7 separate regions of the Homo sapiens genome follow, and all the other regions are linked to region 3. Evidence: promoter capture Hi-C in 16 types of primary human blood cells and fetal thymus (Javierre and others, 2016). All regions are on one chromosome and are shown on one strand. The core of a region is centred on a gene start or on the middle of the fragment in contact, and the rest is flanking DNA. Distances in the headings are between cores, read along the strand shown.

What was found. The method cuts DNA at HindIII sites, captures the fragments that hold promoters and counts their contacts. A CHiCAGO score of 5 or more calls a contact.
Region 1: a fragment that was not itself captured here is called in contact with the fragment with the promoter of PRDM1 in region 3 in 2 of 17 cell types (M1 macrophages and monocytes); the score reaches 5.7 in M1 macrophages.
Region 2: a contact is called between a fragment that was not itself captured here and the fragment with the promoter of PRDM1 in region 3, in 14 of 17 cell types (M0 macrophages, total CD8 T cells, total CD4 T cells and 11 more). The highest score is 17.2, in M0 macrophages.
Region 4: a fragment that was not itself captured here is called in contact with the fragment with the promoter of PRDM1 in region 3 in 6 of 17 cell types (M1 macrophages, activated CD4 T cells, M0 macrophages and 3 more); the score reaches 7.4 in M1 macrophages.
Region 5: a fragment that was not itself captured here is called in contact with the fragment with the promoter of PRDM1 in region 3 in 1 of 17 cell types (M0 macrophages); the score reaches 5.7 in M0 macrophages.
Region 6: a fragment that was not itself captured here is called in contact with the fragment with the promoter of PRDM1 in region 3 in 2 of 17 cell types (total CD4 T cells and naive CD8 T cells); the score reaches 7.1 in total CD4 T cells.
Region 7: a contact is called between a fragment that was not itself captured here and the fragment with the promoter of PRDM1 in region 3, in 2 of 17 cell types (M0 macrophages and M1 macrophages). The highest score is 7.4, in M0 macrophages.

Annotation. Positions count from the first base shown.
Region 1 is chr6:105,562,838-105,565,537 of GRCh38, forward strand. No RefSeq gene overlaps it. Among named protein-coding and RNA genes, the nearest start is that of LINC02836, 68 kb to the right of the region's middle. The HindIII fragment of the contact is 3,596 bases long and covers 1-2,700 here.
Region 2 is chr6:105,435,074-105,437,773 of GRCh38, forward strand. No RefSeq gene overlaps it. Among named protein-coding and RNA genes, the nearest start is that of PREP, 33 kb to the left of the region's middle. The HindIII fragment of the contact is 7,172 bases long and covers 1-2,700 here.
Region 3 is chr6:106,085,002-106,087,701 of GRCh38, forward strand. PRDM1 (PR/SET domain 1) reads left to right here and starts at 1,335. Exons shown (of 7, transcript NM_001198.4): 1 at 1,335-1,594. The coding sequence starts at 1,553. RefSeq lists an enhancer at 963-1,682. The HindIII fragment of the contact is 5,820 bases long and covers 1-2,700 here.
Region 4 is chr6:105,510,506-105,513,205 of GRCh38, forward strand. No RefSeq gene overlaps it. Among named protein-coding and RNA genes, the nearest start is that of PREP, 110 kb to the left of the region's middle. The HindIII fragment of the contact is 1,986 bases long and covers 371-2,356 here.
Region 5 is chr6:105,419,019-105,421,718 of GRCh38, forward strand. No RefSeq gene overlaps it. Among named protein-coding and RNA genes, the nearest start is that of PREP, 17 kb to the left of the region's middle. The HindIII fragment of the contact is 2,945 bases long and covers 1-2,700 here.
Region 6 is chr6:105,396,559-105,399,258 of GRCh38, forward strand. PREP (prolyl endopeptidase) reads right to left here. Exons shown (of 15, transcript NM_002726.5): 2 at 1,295-1,369. Among named protein-coding and RNA genes, the nearest start is that of PREP, 5.2 kb to the right of the region's middle. RefSeq lists an enhancer at 1,342-2,104. The HindIII fragment of the contact is 1,316 bases long and covers 780-2,095 here.
Region 7 is chr6:105,545,737-105,548,436 of GRCh38, forward strand. No RefSeq gene overlaps it. Among named protein-coding and RNA genes, the nearest start is that of LINC02836, 85 kb to the right of the region's middle. The HindIII fragment of the contact is 1,315 bases long and covers 681-1,995 here.

The DNA of each region.
Region 1 (2,700 bases), core at 125-2,624, 520 kb before region 3:
CAGAATCTCTTCTAGAGCCTCTGAAGGGAACATGGCCCTGTAGAACTCTTAATTTCAGACTTCTTGCCTCTAGAACGGTAACAGAATAAATTTCTGTTGTGTTAAGCTATCTAGTTTGTGGAAATTTGTTACAGCAGCCCTGGGAAGCTAATACACTGATTCTTTCTCATTCTTTACTCAAATAAGACATATAGACTGTGCTCTGGAAGGCTTTACCCATGACACCAACCCATTGAGATCTCTTTCTTCTCTAGATGAGGCTGCTCTTCATAATCCCTTACCCTGAAGTTGGTATTCTTAAATAATTTCACACATTAATTCTGCCCCTTTCTCTTGGCTCTGCACACAAAATTCCTTGGGAATGAAGAGCATACCTCAATGCCCTTTAAACACCCTGGACTGTCATAAACAATGCTAGTTTCATAGAAAATGCTCAGTGGATTCCTGTTGATTGGCCACAGACTTGAAATACTGATGAGATGTTTTTAAATCTGAATTTCATTTTCTTCCATTCAACATCTAGAGAATTTACACTAGGAAACTAACCTCCCATTCCTACTTGAAATGGATAGAGAAACCCTTAGTGTTGAATCTCAGGCAGATAGAGTTTACTTTAACAAAGGAATTGTTATTGGAGGCCTAAAGGTAATTTAAATGGAAAAACTGCTATTGAAGGGGGCCAGTCCCAGGTGGCATGTGCAACAGAGGCCCTTCTGCTCTGTCAGATCTTGCCCTTATTACACATGATGGGATTTAAGGCTGATGATGGATTAGGACATTTTAGGCTAAGGGCCATTCTACATCCTCTGAACAGCAACTTGAAATAGGGCAGTCTATATAGCAGATTCGGTATAGAGTCTTAATTAAAGGATATATAGACCTTAATTTAGCTCCATTTTAATTGTGCAGAATTCTTTTAAACTTTAGAGGATGGTCTAAATTTAGTTCAGCTTTTTTTTTTTTTTTTTTTTTTTTTTTTTTTTTTTTTGAGATGGAGTCTCGCTCTGTCACCCAGGCTGGAGTGCAGTGGCACAATTATGGTTCACTGCAACCTCCGCCTCTCAGGTTCAAGCAGTTCTCCTGCTTCAGCCTCCAGAGTAGCTGGGCTTACAGGTACCCACCACCATGCCCGGCTAGTTTTTCTATTTTTAGTAAAGATGGGGTTTCGCCATGTTTGCCAGGCTGGTCTCAAACTCCTGACCTCAAATGATCCAACTGCTTCAGCCTCCCAAAGTGCTGAGATTACAGGCGTGAGCCACTGCACCCGACCTACTTTAGCAAATATTATCTTCTTTAAGAGAGGCCCTTTACTAGTCTGCTGTAGAGTTCATAAAAGTGAATAAGACACAGGTCCTGTCCTGAAGGGGCACACTCTCTAATAGGGTCAATAATTTATATAAGTAACTTCAGTTTTGTCATCAAATCTATTGACACACACACACACACACACGCACCAAAGATGAGTCAAGGACGAGAGTTATTCATTCTGAGAGGAAGGATTGGGGAAAGATTCATTATAGATTGTGATATTTGGGTCACATCCAAAGAATGGAAATTTTATCATTAGTCAAACAATTTTAGAGGAAGGATGTTTTAGGAAGAAGCCTATCAGAAGCCAGGAGAATGTAAGCACTTGTTCTGTGAAGGCCCTGCAAGTATATTGATGGTGATTCTGGAGGCTGGCGTGTGTGGAAAGATGTGGCAGGAAAACAGGTTTTAAAAAGCATTTGAACTCAATCATTCAGAGCCTTAAAACTCAGGCTAAGAAGATCATACTGTATCCCATAAGGCCTGAGACGCTATGCAGATTTTTGAGCAAAAGAAACAGGGAACGTGACATTTGTGTCATGTTAATGAGGTGTGGACCAAAGAGACAAAGGCTTAGTTGCAGAAGGGGCTATTGCTATGGTCTAAGGAAGAGTGGTGAGAGCAAGAGTTTGGGAAGTAGCTTGGGAAATATAAAGGAAGAGACAGCGTTGTTTGAGAGATAATTAGAAAGTATAATCAACAAAATTTAGTGACTAATGAGGCATGAGTGTAGAGAGAGGAATTAAAGACAACTCCAATAAAAGTGGCCTGAGAGCAGGGAGGTTTAAGTGGGGTATATGGGAAGCATAGGAGGTGCAGTTCTGAAAAGAAACTGGCCAGGAGAGTATAGGGTTTCGACACGGTGATTTTGAATTGCCAGCAGAAACTTTAAATTGGAATTCAGGCGATATAAAATTTAGAGTCACCAGTATGGAGACTAGGCTTAAAGCCATAAGAGAAGATGAGAGCCCAGGAAGAAAGCACAGAGGAAAGGAAGAAAGCAAAGAGGGGAAGCTCTGTGGTAGAAATTTTTTTTTTTTTTTTTTTTGAGATGAGTCTCGCACTGTTGCCCGGGCTGGAGTGCAATGGCGCGATCTCGGCTCATTGCAACCTCTACCTCCCGGCTTCAAGTGATTCTCCCGCCTCAGCCTCCCAAAAGGTGGGATTATAGGTGCCTGCCGCCACGCCCAGCTAATTTTTTGTATTTTTAGTAGAGATGGGGTTTCACCATGTTGGCCAGGCTGGTCTCGAACTCTTGACCTCGTGATCCGCCCGCCTCGGCCTCCCACAGTGCTGGGATTACAAGCGTAAGCCACCGCGCCTGGCCCAGTATAGTGCTTTTTGAATAGGTATGTAGCCTTTTGAGTTTGGCTTCCTTTGCTGAGCATAGTA
Region 2 (2,700 bases), core at 196-2,695, 650 kb before region 3:
ATGATTTTTAAAGTATTCTATTCAGCTATGCTGATATCTAGAATTACTTTAAATTAAGTCATTGGAAAATATTGGGCAATTATACCAAATTTCTGGCAGACTGTGATTGGAGTGATAGATATCTTAGAAATAGATTCCTGTGTTCAGTTGGTATTTTGTGGTAGGGGTCTTCGTACTTTGGGGATGTGGAGTTAGGGGAATTGGGTTTGCCTTTTTGCTCTGCCTATCAGCTTCTTACTAACTCATTCATAAAATAAAGATGAGTCTATTTCAAAGATCTGTTCCACTCTTCAGATATAGCTTTTTATGGTTTTATCAAAATTTATTTTAAGAGTATATCATAAAAGAGTATTTTTAGAGTAATCCACAAAGACTGGTGCATATTTATTAAACAATCAGAACTTGCATGCTTGAAAAAAATCTTAAAACTTTTTTGTTTTAATTCTTAATTTAGAGATGGGTTCTCAATATATTGCCCAGGCTGGCCTCAAACTCCTTGGTTCAAGAGATCCTCCCACCTCAGCCTCCTAAATAGTTGGGACTACAGATGTGTACCACTGCCTCCTACTAAAGAAATCTTTAATTCCTGCCACTGGAAGATTAAATTGTTCAGGTCTTATTCCTACTTCATTTACTTTAACAAAATCAAACATTTTTTATTTCAGAATAGTTTTGGACTCACAGAAAAGTTGCAAGGAGAGTAAGAGAACTCCCATATACTTTGTAGCCATTTTTTCCTATTATTAACATCTTATATTTACTGTGGTATATTTGTTATAACAATGAACCAATAATAATACATTGACATTAACTGAAGTCCATACTTTATTCAGATTTCCTTTAGTTTTTACCTAATGTCTTTTTCTGTTCTAGGAAGGATCCCATCCAGGATACTATATTACATTTAGCTGTCATGTCTCTTTAGGGTCCTCTTGGCTGTGACAGTTTTTCAGACTTTTCTTGTTTTTGATAACTTTGACAGTTCCGTGGTGTGCTGGTCAGCTATTTTGTAGAAAGTCCTTCCATTGGGATTTGCCCATTTTTCTTATGATTAGGCTGCAGTAATGGGTTTGGGGGAGAAAGACCACAGAGGTGAGATGGCCCACTCATCACCTCATCTCAAGGGTACACGCCATCGGCCAGACTTATCACTGTTGCTGTTAACCTTGAGCATCTGGTCAGGATAGTGTTTGTCAGGTGTCTCTGCTGTAAAGTTACTTTTATCCCCCCTCTCCTTTCAGTAGTCTTTGGAAGAAAATCACTTTACACAACCCACTGTTAAGACATGGGAAGATTTAACTCATTTTTAAGTCACCATCCATTGAATTTTAGAGTAAAATCTCGTTAATGTTAGGCACAGCTTTGAGACTATTAGGTAAGTTTGGTGGCAAACTGTCCTGTAAGTTCTTACTAACCTGGAATAAAATTTCTGGGGGAAAAAAGAAAAGGGCTATGACTTGTCCTTCTTCTTTGATATTTTTTTATCCCTTCTTTTGCAGGGAGTTATAAGGTACACTTACACTTAAGTACAAAACAACATGATTCTCTCCCCATCCCCCACAGTCTAGCAAAAACAATCTATCGCCTTAAAATAGGAAGAAAATATGCTTCTTTTTCATTGCTTTAGCAAAGGATTGCGGGAGATCTGGATCAATAGCATTTTTCCAAGTTGTAGTTATGTGAATCCTAATATTTACATTAAACAGTTTTTGTGCTTCAGCATCTTTGAAACTTTCTTTGGTCCCCACCCTTTTAGGAACAACAAATTCCTAAAGCGTGAATGTTTACGACAAAACAAAATATTCTCAGCCTTTCATTCTATTTTTTTTAAAATTACAGAAGTAATATATGTTTTTTTAAAGTAAAAAAAGTTAAAACAATCCAGAAGTACATAAAGTGTAAAAGTAGAAGTCTTCCCTGGCTCTGCATGTGGTAGAATTGACTCCATTATTAAATGTTGTTTTTTTGGCTTTCTATCACAGATGATAGTGTTATTTTATTAAATATGCTCCACTATAACGTAGTATGTAGCAATTAAATGGGGGAAAAGACATGTTTGAAATTTGGCTTGGACTGTTAACTTGTTACTTATTTAATCAACTATCTAGCAAATGATGTTCTAGATGCTGGAGAAATGTAGGGGTATACATGATGCAAAAGCAAATTATCTGTCCTCAGAGGAACCCATGGTACAGATACAGAGGGACAGACCTCCATAAACGACAAAGAAGTTAACAAATGTCTTCCATCCAAGCACATCTGTCACATGTAGAACTTGAAAACTAATTTTTGCTTGGCTAATATGATTATGACCTACTCAGAGTATATTTTTAGTTTATTTAGTTTGTTAAATTTGGAACAAAAAGCTCTGAGCTAATTTTCAGAATGAGTGTGAACTGGTTCGTTTAACTATGTAACACAATTTCACCATTTTTCTGAGACTGCACATGGTAGTTCTGTTTTTTTAAGATGATGAAAAAAGATTTTATCCTCTGATCATGCCAAGAAGGGAAGACTCAGAATCTATCATCCTAATCTTTTCAAGCATATCAAGTACAGCTTTGATGATGAAAGAATTTTTATGGAATAAGTTTGGTGCCTAAACAAATCTCCTACTATTTTCCTACCTGTAATGATATAAGAAAATGTATATCTGCCAACAATCACTCATTCACTAAACAGGAACTAATTTTAATGTAA
Region 3 (2,700 bases), core at 85-2,584:
CTAAAAAAAATTCTAGAAAAGTTTTCTAAAAGTGAGAAAAGAAATTTTAAAGATAAACAGACATATTTTTTAGGATTGAGTTGGGCTTTTGTTTTGCTTTGTTTCATTTCTTCCTGTAAACAAATACTCAGATGTCCATTTCATTGTATGACTAAGTTGGTATCATTAGGTTGGAACTGGGTGTGTGTATGTGGGTGTGTGTGTGGGTGGATGTGTGTGCACACGTGTATTTAAAATGTTAGAAAAGACATTGCAGGTCGAAGGAGAAATGATTTTAAAAAAACCTACCTATGGTAAGGCAAGCAGGAAAAATGGAAGACCTGGATTTCAATGATCTAAATAATAATTGAAATGGGGTGTTTGCTATAAACATTGTTTCTCTGAATTAAAGGATTCCTTGCTGAAGGCACAAGACCATTGAAGGAAGTAAAGCATCTGGTTTGTTTTGTAATGAGAAGCAGGAATGCAAGGTCCACGCTCTTAATAATAAACAAACAGGACATTGTATGCCATCATCACAGGATGTCCTTCCTTCAACAGAGGACTGACTGGGCTGGAGGAAAAGCTGGCCGGGGCTCAGAATAAGCCCCACTAATTACTGCCTCCGACCGCTTTCCACTTGCAGTGATCAGTTCAATATTCCTCTGAACTGTGAAACGACTAATGCTCTACATTTTACTTACACTCCTGGGAAGTCAGCCTGTGGGTTCTGGGAGGAGAGGAAAGGAAAACAAACAATCTGTAGAATTATAACTTTTGCCTATTTCCCTATTTACTAAATAGTTAAAAGAGGAAAGTTAGTTCTGCCAAGTTTGAACGTTAGCAGGAGAAACGGAATGTTACAACTTTTGGGGCGGGGGGCGGGGAAACGTGCGTTACATACACAACAGCTTGAGGACCAGACAGCTCCACTGTATTACACTAGCTGCAAAAACAATTTAACTTGCTCTTTTGAAGTAAGATTTGTGTCTTTTGTACCTGGGGATTTGAGCTGAGAAATCAGAAACTGTGTAGGTAAATTTTAAGTTTCCTTAATTTAAGGAACGTGCGCCCCCTAATTCTGCCGCGCCAGGAAGGAGGGCGATCTGGAGTGTTTAGAATACAATAGAGCCCAAGTAAGCGTTGAGGTTAAGTGCCTTCAAAGGGAAGTAAGAAGATTCCAAGTCAATGTTGAAATACACATGCGAAGAGAGGAAGCTCTCGGCGGCTGTGCTAGCAATCTGGGGGAAAGCCCTGGGCTCGGCCAGGTGGTGTTGGCCACGTTGGCCACGCCCCCACTTCGCGCAGCCGAGTGGCTAAGGAAATCTTAAGCAGGGAGGGGAAGCCAGACGGTTAACACAGACAAAGTGCTGCCGTGACACTCGGCCCTCCAGTGTTGCGGAGAGGCAAGAGCAGCGACCGCGGCACCTGTCCGCCCGGAGCTGGGACGCGGGCGCCCGGGCGGCCGGACGAAGCGAGGAGGGACCGCCGAGGTGCGCGTCTGTGCGGCTCAGCCTGGCGGGGGACGCGGGGAGAATGTGGACTGGGTAGAGATGAACGAGACTTTTCTCAGATGTTGGATATTTGCTTGGAAAAACGTGTGGGTACGACCTTGGTAAGGAACTTGAATTTTTTTTTTTTAATTCTGAAATTGATCTGAAAACTTTATTTTCTTTTCCTTTATTGTTATTATTATTAATTTTTTTTGGCTAATGTCGCAGTAGAAACATGCTTCTGCTTTAGTGCACTTAGTGCTGTCAAACATTTGTGAGACTTTCCTTATGAATCATTAACCCTTTCAGTTCTAGACATAATTGCCAATTCATTGAAATTTCAGTAGTGGTTCCAGCTCACACTCGTCAAACTATTCCGGGTTGGCTGAAGTTTTCTATTTTATTTTATTTTTAACATGTGTTTGGCGTCATGACTCTACATGTTGGAACTAAATAAAAATAAGCAGGTTTGCTTAAATCATAACTGAGGGAAAAACAACTTTGCATCCAACTTTTTTTTTTTTAAGAGCATCCTATTTAGAGAAGTGGAAGAATGTAAAAACCTCCTTGAAGGACTTCCACAGAATGTTATGTTTACATTTGAACAAACACACATTCTTACATGGAAATGATACCCATATTCCTCATTTTTATCAAACATGTCTATATGAGAAAACCCTTACAGAAGTTGTTTACCTTTTTTTGCCTTTGGAAAACAGTTTTTTTCTGAGTGTGAGGGAGGATTTTGGGGGAATATCCTCATCAATGTACAAGTGGAAGCAGAGCTTGTCCTCCAAGTCTTCTAAATTTGTTATAACTTTAGTTACAGTAAACTGTAGTACATCAGTGACTTCTGGGAATTCATACACTTTCAGATTTAAATGGAAAGTGCTATTTGTAGCTGAGGACTCCTAAAGGAATTCTCTCCAGGGAATTTTATTAAACGGTTTTATGTTTTGTTTTTGCCTTTTCAATTTGGTATGAGATGCTTGCAAGTCAGAAGACACTGCAGGCTGTTTTCCCCTTCACCCATTTTTCCTCCTCTTTTCCTGTGGTCCAAGTGATTTCTAAGAGGCCGTAGCTCAGTGATGCTGGCAGGATGCAACCCTTTTCAGTCTTCCATGTGAGAGGATGAAAGAGAGCTCGCAGCAGAGGGAGGAGGCAGTTGTTTTGAAAGTTGTTTTGCGTTGGGAGCTGGTGGGAAAGTTCGGTCTTCCCCATTTGGAAA
Region 4 (2,700 bases), core at 114-2,613, 570 kb before region 3:
CATTGCTGCTAATCTGTCAGGAGGAGTGGGGCTGGCTAATGAGGTAATGAAAGAAGAATAATGCAAATTATAGTTCATATTTACTATGAAATGATTCTGTTTCAGGCTCTATGCTCAAGGTTCTATTCAGTCACCAAACCTGTGCTTCTGAAAGAGGACAGCGTAGATTAATAAGGAAATCAGTTATTGGTAGCTGCCTTTTGTTATCAACACTGACAAATTTGCTGTCTTTACTATGCCTTCCAAGTGACTAATATCAGTAGATTTGGTTAATAGAAAGAGTGAAGTCTAAATACTGAAAAAGAATAAACAAAATGCAGATAAATATTTTGAAATGATTCAGATTGGGAAAGTCCTAATACCACTGCTAAGCTTTCAACATTTTCCTTGCCACAGAATGATTCCTCTGAGAACAAAGTAATTGTTGACTTCAAAGAACTCTGAGGAAGTTCAGTGGATGGAAAGAATTTGGCTAGCAACAGGATGAATCAAATCTAGATTTTTTCCTATCACTAGTATATGTGTGTGTCTGTGTGTGTGTGTGTGTAGAGCACATGAATATTTCCATACAATTTAACTCACTACCTAAAGTGTTTCTCAATATTAAAAATGCACTGAAGAATGGAAATGCCCTTCCTATTTGGTAACTACTCCAAAGATGCCTTGGAGTTGTTCCATACCTGGGCTACACCTACACTCTATTAATTATGGAGAGTACTGTTCCCCAAATCTAGCTGGGCCCCAGAATCATATCAGGACCTTTAAAAGTATTTATTCTTTTATCATAGTCCTACTGAATTGGCTTCTTCAGAGGTGGAGGTGGAAATATATATATTTGTGCAAGTGATGCTGAAAACAGTCTGGGTGTACACTTACATTTAATTCAGGTTGGCAGTGAATCTTGTGAGCCACTCATCTAAACAGCTCAATTGACAGGTTAAGTGACTGCTACCTGTTCCAACTGAAGTTATTCCCTCAATAACAGCAGATCTGTGTAGACCCCATCAAGGACTTTAACAGTAATTGATTGACCCTCCATACTCACTTGATTGACCCTCCATACTCACCACCTGAGACCCTGCTTTTCATTCTTGCATTTCAAAGAACATGTTCCACTGTGAAATACCAAGATATCTTGGCCAACCTGGCCTTGAAATTGCCTGGCTGTTGGAAATGATGCCCCCACAATGGATTTGGAGAATACACCTTAATATATGCCCTCAGCAAGATAGGTTTCAAATAAGCGACTCAAACCTGGAAGCCTCCCACATGGTACATGAGACATTACAAATAAGCTCTTGGTTCTGTTGATTCTTCCTCTTTTAGTTTTCTATGTTTATACAGTTTTCTTGGTTTTAGAAACCTCCTCACTATAAACTCTGCTTATCAGCCTATTCTAGCTCTCCACCACACAGAATTGCATGCATGAGACAAGAGCAACCTGCCTGCTGAAAGCCTGAGACCACAGTCGCTTAGATTTTTAGGGGGCACTAAGTGTCACTGGAGGACAACCCACTTCAATTATGGTTTTTCTTACTTTCTTTCTTTCTTTTTTTTTTTGAGACAGAGTCTCACTCTGTTGCCCCAGCTGGAGTACAGTGGTGATCTTGGCTGACTGCAACCTCTGGCCTCCCGGGTTCAAGTGATTCTCCTGCCTCAGCCTCCCAAGTAGCTGGGATTACAGGTGCCTGCCCCCACGCCCACCTAATTTTGTATTTTAGTAGAGACAGGGTTTTGCCATGTTGGTCAGGCTAGTCTTGAACTCCTGACCTCAGGTGATCCACTTGTCTTGGCCTCCCAAAGTACTGGGATTGCAGGCATGAGCCACCACACCCGGCCAGTTTTTCTTTTCTTTAAAAGTATTTCATCAGCATCTCATATGGTGTGTTTGTGAGTTTGGCAGAGCACAGCAAGGCATTTCAAGATCTCAGCATTCGTTTCTTGCTTGGAGAGACAGGAAAAGGTGCACTTGTTCTCATCCCTGGGGAAATGGTCCCTCATGAGTCAAAAATGCTTTGTTTCTGGTCAAGGCAGCTTCAGAGATACCGACACTGCCTTTCTCTTCCTAGTCCAATCACCCCCTTCCTTTTGGGTCTCAGCAGGTATAGAAGTTGAGAAGACTGAATTCACTGTTGAATTCATTCACCTATCAATTCACCTCAACAATGATTTCTCATTGTCATGTGCCAAGCACTTTGAGGAATACAAGGTAATCCATGGAGAGAATAAATTATATATAATTTCCAATGCAAAGTAGAAAGGGGTTTGTAGCATGAAAGAGGAAAACAAAAATTGCTATGTGAGCTTTGTGGTCAGAGCTCATATATTATATAGTGGAAGAGAAGGTTAAGGGGAAAGCTTCCCTTTCTTTCTTTCCCTATATCCAGTCCCCCAACTCTAAAGTATTGGGTGTAACATAACTTTTGGAATGCCTATAAGGTCTTACGTTTCAGGAATCTCTGTGACAATGCCAGCATTTGTGGGGTTCAGGAAGACTGAGGCCAGCTTTGCAGTAGAATGTTGCAGAATCACCTGGGAAGTTTGGGGAGCAAAAATATTCTTGCTTGGACCACAGAGATCGGGATTCACAGCCCTAGGGTGGGTCCCTCATGTCATCTCCAGGTACATGTGCAAAATTCTCCCAGGAGTTAGGCTAGTATCTCTCCACAGAGAGCCACAACACTGACTTAAACTGATTTT
Region 5 (2,700 bases), core at 3-2,502, 670 kb before region 3:
ATCAAACCCACAGCCAATATCATACTGAATGGGCAAAAACGGGAAGCATTCCCTTTGAAAACCAGCACAAGACAAGGATGCCCTCTCTCACCACTCTTATTCAACATAGTGTTGGAAGTTCTGGCCAGGACAATCAGGCAAGAGAAAGAAATAAAGGGTATTCAATTAGGAAAAGAGAAAGTCAAACCGTCCCTGTTTGCAGATGACATAATTGTATATTTAGAAAACCACATCATCTCGGCCCCAAATTTCCTTAAGCTGATAAGCAATTTCAGCAAAGTCTCAGGATACAAAATCAAAGTGCAAAAATCACAAGCATTCTTATACACCAGTAAAAGACAAACAGAGAGCCAAATCATGAGTGAACTCCCATTCTCAATTGCTACAAAGGAATAAAATACCTAGGAATCCAACTTACAAGGGATGTGAAGGACCTCTTCAAGGAGAACTACAAACCACTGCTCAAGGAAATAAAAGAGGACACAAACAAATGGAAGAACATTCCATGCTCATGGATAGGAAGAATCAATATCGTGAAAATGGCCATACTGCCCAAGGTAATTTACAGATTCAATGCCATCCCCATCAAGCTACCAATGACTTTCTTCACAGAGTTGGAAAAAACCACTTTAAAGTTCATATAGAACCAAAAAAGAGCCCGCATTGCCAAGACAATCCTAAACAAAAAGAACAAAGCTGGAGGCATCATGCTACCTGGCTTCAAACTATACTACAAGGCTACAGTAACCAAAACAGCATGGTACTGGTGCTAAAACAGAGATATAGACCAATGGAACAGAACAGAGGCCTCAGAAACAACACCACACATCTACAACCATCTGATCTTTGACAAACCTGACAAGAAATGGGGAAAGGATTCACTATTTAATAAATGGTGCTGGGAAAACTGGCTAGCCATATGTAGAAAGCTGAAACTGGATCCCTTCTTTACACCTTACACAAAAATTAATTCAAGATGGATTAAAGACTTAAATATTAGACCTAAAGCCATAAAAACCCTAGAAGAAAACCTAGGCAATACCATTCAGGACATAGGCATGGGCAAGGACTTCATGTCTAAAACACCAAAAGCAATGGCCACAGAAGCCAAAATTGACAAATGTGATCTAATTAAACTAAAGAGCTTCTGCACAGCAAAAGAGACTACCATCACAGTGAACAGGCAACCTACAGAATGGGAGAAAATTTTTGCAATCTACTCATCTGACAAAGGGTTAATATCCAGAATCTGCAAAGAACTCAAACAAATTTACAAGAAAAACACAAACAACCCCATCAAAAAGTGGGTGAAGGATATGAACAGACACTTCTCAAAAGAAGACATTTATGCAGCCAACAGACACATGAAAAAATGTTCATCATCACTGGCCATCAGAGAAATGCAAATCAAAACCACAATGAGATACCATCTCATACCAGTTAGAATGGCTATCATTAAAAAGTCAGGAAACAGCTGGTGCTGGAGAGGATGTGGAGAAATAGGAACACTTTTACACTGTTGGTGGGACTGTAAACTAGTTCAACCATTGTGGAAGACAGTGTGGCAATTCCTCAAGGATCTGGAACTAGAAATACCATTTGACCCAGCGATCCCATTACTGGGTATATATCCAAAGGATTATAAATCATGCTGCTATAAAGACACATGCACACGTATGTTTATTGTGGCACTATTCACAATAGCAAAGACTTGGAACCAACCCAAATGTCCATCAATGATAGACTGGATTAAGAAAATGTGGCACATATACACCATGGAATACTATGCAGCCATAAAAAAGGATGAGTTCATGTCCTTTGTAGGGACATGGATGAAGCTGGAAAGCATCATTCTCAGCAAACTATAGCAAGGACAAAAAACCAAACACCGCATATTCTCACTCACAGGTGGGAATTGAACAATGAGAACACTTGGACAAAGGAAGGGGAACATCACACACCGGGGCTTGTCGTGGGGTTGGGGGTGGGGAGAGGGATAGCATTAGGAGATATACCTAATGTAAATAACGAGTTAATGGGTGCAGCACATCAACATGGCACATGTATACATATGTAACAAATCTGCACGTTGTGCACATGTACCCTAGAACTTAAAGTATAATTAAAAAAATAAAAGAAAAAGTACTTAATTTCACTAGGAATCAGGGAAATGCACATTTAAACCACAGTGTGGTATCATTACAGATCCACTAGATTAGAAACAATAATTCTGGGCCGGGCGTGGTGGCTACAGCTGTAATCCCAGCACTTTGGGAGGCTGAGGTGGGCAGATCAGGAGGTCAGAAGATCGAGACAATCCTGGCTAACACGGTGAACCCCGTCTCTACTAAAAATACAAAAAAGTAGCCAGGCATGGTGGCAGGCACCTGTAGTCCCAGCTACTCGGGAGGCTGAGGCAGGAGAATGGCGTGAACCCGGGAGGTGGAGTTTGCAGTGAGCGGAGATTGCACCACTGCAGTCCAGCCTCGGCAACAGAGCGAGACTCCGTCTCAAAAAAAAAAAAAAAAAAAAAAAAAAAAGATACAATAATTCCGAAAATACCAAGTATAGGGGAAGGATGTATAACAAGAGAGATTCTTCTCATGCACTTCTTGAAGGAATGTAGATTGGTAAAACCACATTGAAAAGCAGTTTTGCTTTGCCTAGTAAAGTTGAAGATTCATATATGTTACATCAGTA
Region 6 (2,700 bases), core at 188-2,687, 690 kb before region 3:
CTGGCAAATCTGAATTCAGGTCTCCAGAGAACACTGGTATATACGGTGGAAAGGGACTGCAAGAAACAGGCGGAGTTAAGACACAGGCGTTTGAAGACTGGCCTGAAAAACTACCTAGAGTGCCATTTAACCTTTTTTTTTTTTAAATGGGAAACGTACCCTGCAACTCTAAAGAAGCTCGAATAAATTTTGGGATGCTGAACATATCAGAAACTGCAAATATGTACTAAGTATTATGTACTATGGTTATAAATAGAAGAATCCAAGAACTTAAGATGAACTTGAGAAACACTATTCCCCCAACCAAGCAAACTTAATTAACTACATAAAGTACACATAAATGGGCTGGGCGCGATGGTGCACACTTGTAATCCCAACACTTTGGGAGGCCGAGGCGGGAGGATCACTTGAGGCCAGGAGTTCGAGACCAGCCTGGCCAACATGGTGAAACCCCCGTCTCTACTAAAAATACAAAAACTAGCCGGGTGTGGTGGCACATGCCTGTAATCCCAGCTACTCGGGAGGCTGAGGTACAAGAATTGCTTGAACCCAGGAGGCGGAGGTTGCAGTGAGCCAAGATCGCACCAGTGCCCTACAGCCTGGGTGACAGAGTAAGACTCTGTCTACAAAAAAAAAAAAAAAAAGTATACATAAGTGACAAGTCCTAGGCACTCCAAAAAGGGAAAAATGTCTGTGGGACATAGGACTTAGGGCCACCTTCATTACTGAATGGACTTCAGCAGGATCCTTGAAATACTGTTTCTCCAAAAGAATATGAAAGCTTTATGTTTTTAGGGCAGAAAATGCTCCCCCCTGCCCCTTCACTACTTAGCTTTTGTTTCACTGTTGTTGTGTTGACATCAATAAGCAATTTAAGGACAGTGTTCAGTTTTCATGACCTAATATTCATTTCATATACAAGATTTCCTTTTCTTTGGAAAAAAATATTTAGGCAATTTTTTCCTTTAACATCATTTCTATCTAGGTTTTCATTTTTTCTTTTGGCAAAAATCAGTTTTCTTTCTGATATTTTCATTTAAAATAGCTCATCAGTGTCACTATGAACCATAAACATTATCTGAAACACTTAGGTGATCTTCTCTGGGACTAAGCCATGCTTTTGTCTTTTTCCCATAAATTATTTGACAAAAAGTAGTGGTAACAACAGGTATACTCACCATCCCATGGCAGAAAACACAGGAGAACACCAGAAAGGAAAAGCTATAGTTACTGACATTTAGAGTTTGGTGCTAGCTACTAAGGCTGCCTTATCTTTAATTAGAAACCAAATTACCTTAGTCTGTTCACTGTCGGGGTCTTCAAGCCAGGCGTAAGGGTCACAAATTTTATGACCATGATAATCCTGTACCTGTAAAAAACAAAATGAGGTATTAGATAATTACTCTCTAACCCCAATTAAAACTGGTATTTTTTTAATGTAATGGAGAAATAGGAAAGGGATGGACAAAAATGCTAATTGGCTCACTGGCAACGTGTCTGCCCAAATTACCACATGAACCAAAGTTGGCAGGTTCTCAAAGGTGTCAAGCCACCCTTCATGAAAAGAATGTTTCAGCTAGAGAGGAAAGAAAGATGAAAGGTCAGAACAGGAAACCGCTCTGTCCCTACAACACAAAACAAAGACCTGCCACTGTGCTAAAGAAACTTGAAAACGTGCTGTCAGCAGCCAAGCACAGAATGACACAATACAGTGGACAATACAGTGGGCACACAAGAAGGGCACGTCAGGGAGGGGGCTAACACACACGTGCTCATTCTCCTGTTCCGCTGAGCTTCCCAATGATTAGAAAATCTCCCTGCAATATAGCCCAGGTTTGCTTTTATGTCTAAACTGCCAAAAAGCAAGTTACTAATATGTAGTATAATGATTCTAATTGACATAAGTTCAAAAAGCTGACTTAAATGCAATGGCAAAACATTTTAAAACTAATGCCTTTCTTCCTTTTTATTTACTGTTATGAAATGCTTTTTTCCACTGTTTACAAAAAGAAGGTGCAAAAGCATCACCCATTCAGGTTACCATGATATTGGAAGAAATAAAACTGCTTAGTGTAAGTAGAACCTGGCTGAAGGAAGCTTTCTGGAGCTTCTAAGGCCTGGCCTTAGAAGCCACTTGAAGGCGTTTGAAGGAGCAAGTAGAAACAGTTTTCACCACTCCTCAAGTGATTATGCCAAAAGAAATTATCCAGCAGTAAAAATCATTACAAAATCTCTCCACCTGATACCATCAAGATTAACCCCATTAGGACAGAGTGCAGTGGCTCACAGCCATAATCCCAGCACTTTGGGAGACTGAGGCAGGCGGATCACTTGAGGTCAGGAGTTCAAGACCAGCCTGGCCAACATGCTGAAATCCTGTCTCTACTCAAAATTTAAAAATTAGCCGGGCATGGTGGCAGGTGCTGTAATCCCAGCTACTCGGGAGGCTAAGGCAGGGGAGTCTCCTGAACCCAGGAGGCAGAGGTTGCAGTGAGCTGAGACAACGCCTATTGCACTCCAGCCCGGGCAACAGAGCAAGACTTCATCTCAGAAAAAAAAAAAGATTAACCCCATTAATGAAACCACACTGACAATGTCTTGCCAATCAAGTCTCTGAACCACTCCAACATTCTAGTTAAGGCTTCTTGTATAAAGCTGTTGGGAAGACTACCTCTATCTCAGATGAATTTTTTAATCTGT
Region 7 (2,700 bases), core at 88-2,587, 540 kb before region 3:
ACCATAGCTCAGCTTCTTACTCATCAAGCTAAGACAAAGGAGAACAGTGCATGACCGAAAAATACGTTCTTTATCCAGGCTTTTGGATTATGATCATGGCTTGGGAAACAATTTATTTGATATTAGTCTGCTTACCAATTTTGCTTCATTTTCAAAACATTTCCTAGTTCCTGGAAACACCTGAAGCTCAGAAGAGACATGATAAATTACTTTTCTCTAGAAGACATCTGAATTGCTTTACAGTATTTGTTTTCTCAAAAACATTGATGTTTGCTTTGGACTAACTTTATCAAGATAAAATAGCAATCTTATTTTTTTTTTTTATTACAGTACTCTCCTAACTGAATGGTAAACACCAGCTTTTAATATGGAAGCCACCATGGCAATATATGAGTGATATTTCTCATGTGATTGGTTCTGGAGTTCGATGTCCTTAAAGGCTGGCCTGGGAAAGTGGTTCCCCAATTGTTTACTCTCCTATGCTATTTATACACAGCTATTGAAAGTTAGAGCCTTTCTCTGGGACTTGGCCTCTTTAATTGGAGTGTGAAACACAATTCCCATTAAGATGCCACTTGAAGCAAGGAAACCGTATTCATATCCTGTGAGCAAATGTGGATTTTTCCACTCATGCCCATTTAAATGTCTCAGTTCCTGAACGCAAGAATGGGGGTGTCCGAAGCTTAGCGTTTCCAGGATTTGGGATGAGGGAATCCTGTGAGCGCTGTCTCATGACTTGAGGAAACTTATCTATTCTGAGAAACTCACAGTTATTTATCCCTATAATAATTACTCATTTCTAACATAAGACAGAGTCATCAGGGATGCGCGTCTTGCTGCAGTGATTCATTTCTTTCTTTCATGAGGATTAAGTGCCCTACTGGACAAAGTACAACGTAAGTTGCATCATTTTACACTGCAAATGAGAGCAATATGCGATATTAAGGAATGGATAGTTTCCAAAGTCGAATTCTGCTTTCTGTCAACAGCAGGATTAGCTTTAAGAGTATTCTTTTTTTTCTTAAGTACCTCCAATTCTAATGTCATGTGCAAGGGGCTCTCAGAAAGGCCACCAGTACAGAAAATATGGGGTAAAACCTCCTGTTTCTAATCTTATAGAGGACCCTTAAGTGGTGGTCCTTTTGAGGCTGGCCTTTGTATGAATTGTGGGAACACAGCTCGAGGACAGGGACTGTCTCTGAGTGAAGCTCAGACCATCTGCATGCTGGTACACAGACACGACACAGACACAGTAAACACAGTCAACTGGCAGAGCTACAGGCAGCTATAGGAAAATGGGAATACTTTTACATGACAAAGTTACAAGTGTGTGGCTGTGAAATTAGGGACCAAGATGACTGGAAGGTAGGTGATAGATGTAAATAAATAATACAGGGAGCAACCAAGACAATAGGTAGATGTAAATGTAAATACAAAGGTATAGAATGAGGAGAAGGCAAATGCTTTCAGTGCATACAGTTCATCCTCCTACAGCTCAAAGCACTTTGGATGCCCTTCTAGTTATGAACAAGAAACCTCTGGGAGTTAAATGGACAGCATTATTATATTCCTTTCAAAACCAATGATAACTTGGTTTAGGAAGAGGAAATCCTTTGGGGTAGTAGTGGTTGAATGGAGGTTGAGAGATAATTTTTTTTTGTCCTGGCCATATAATTAGACAAGTCACCAGACCTCTCTGGGCCTGTTTTCCCATCTGTAAAATGGGCTAATAAATTCTAAAGTTCCTCTTATTGCTGAGGTAATCAACATGAAAGTATGATTTTTAAAGAACATTTTGGACCTTTGTTCATATAACAATGAATGTTCTCTCATTCTTCTGATTCACTTTAACTTTCATATATTTCCTTCAGAAGATAACTATAGAAGATTTGTTTGTTTTTAAGAAAGCAGACCTTCATTTAAAAGATAAGAACTCAAAATAAACAGAAGTACTTGGATTTGAGGTTACGAATTTGAATTATTGCTGTTATCTGAAGCTTTGGTTATTTATTTCTTAAATTTTGTACCTATTCTTAATTCCTTTGCATTACCATATTTTTTTTTCTGCTCACTGAAGATAATTTGTTATCTCTTCTTGTATTACTAAAGAAGGAGAGGAAGGAAGGCAGAAAAGAAACAAAGGGAAGGAGGTAGAAAAAAGGGAGGAAGGAATATTAAAAAATGTAGGGTGTCTGTTGTTACAATTTTATGTGCTAACATCACTCTATCACTCTTAAGCTAGAGGAATAGATGACGGGGTTTCTCTTCGGAGGTGTGTGTGTGTGTGTGTGTCAGGGAGTATTATTTTTACTCCAAAACATAAACACACAGACCTACACGTTTACTAACCACTCTCTCCTTTTGGAAGACAGATCTTCAAAAAAGTCTGCACTTCTGATTTCTACCCCCTCACCTCTAATTGTTTTATTTTAATTTTTTTGAGACGGAGTCTCACTCTGTCGCCTAGGCTGGAGTGCAGTGGTGCGATCTCGGCTCACTGCAACCTCCACCTCCTGGGTTCAAGCGATTCTTCTGCCTCAGCCTCCTGAGTAGTTGGGATTATAGGGGCGCGCCACCAGGCCCAGCTAATTTTTGTATTTTCAGTAGAGACGGGGTTTCACCACATTGACCAAGGCTGGTCTCGAACTCCTGACCTTGTGATCCACCTGCCTCGGCCCCCCAAAGTGCTGGGATTACAGG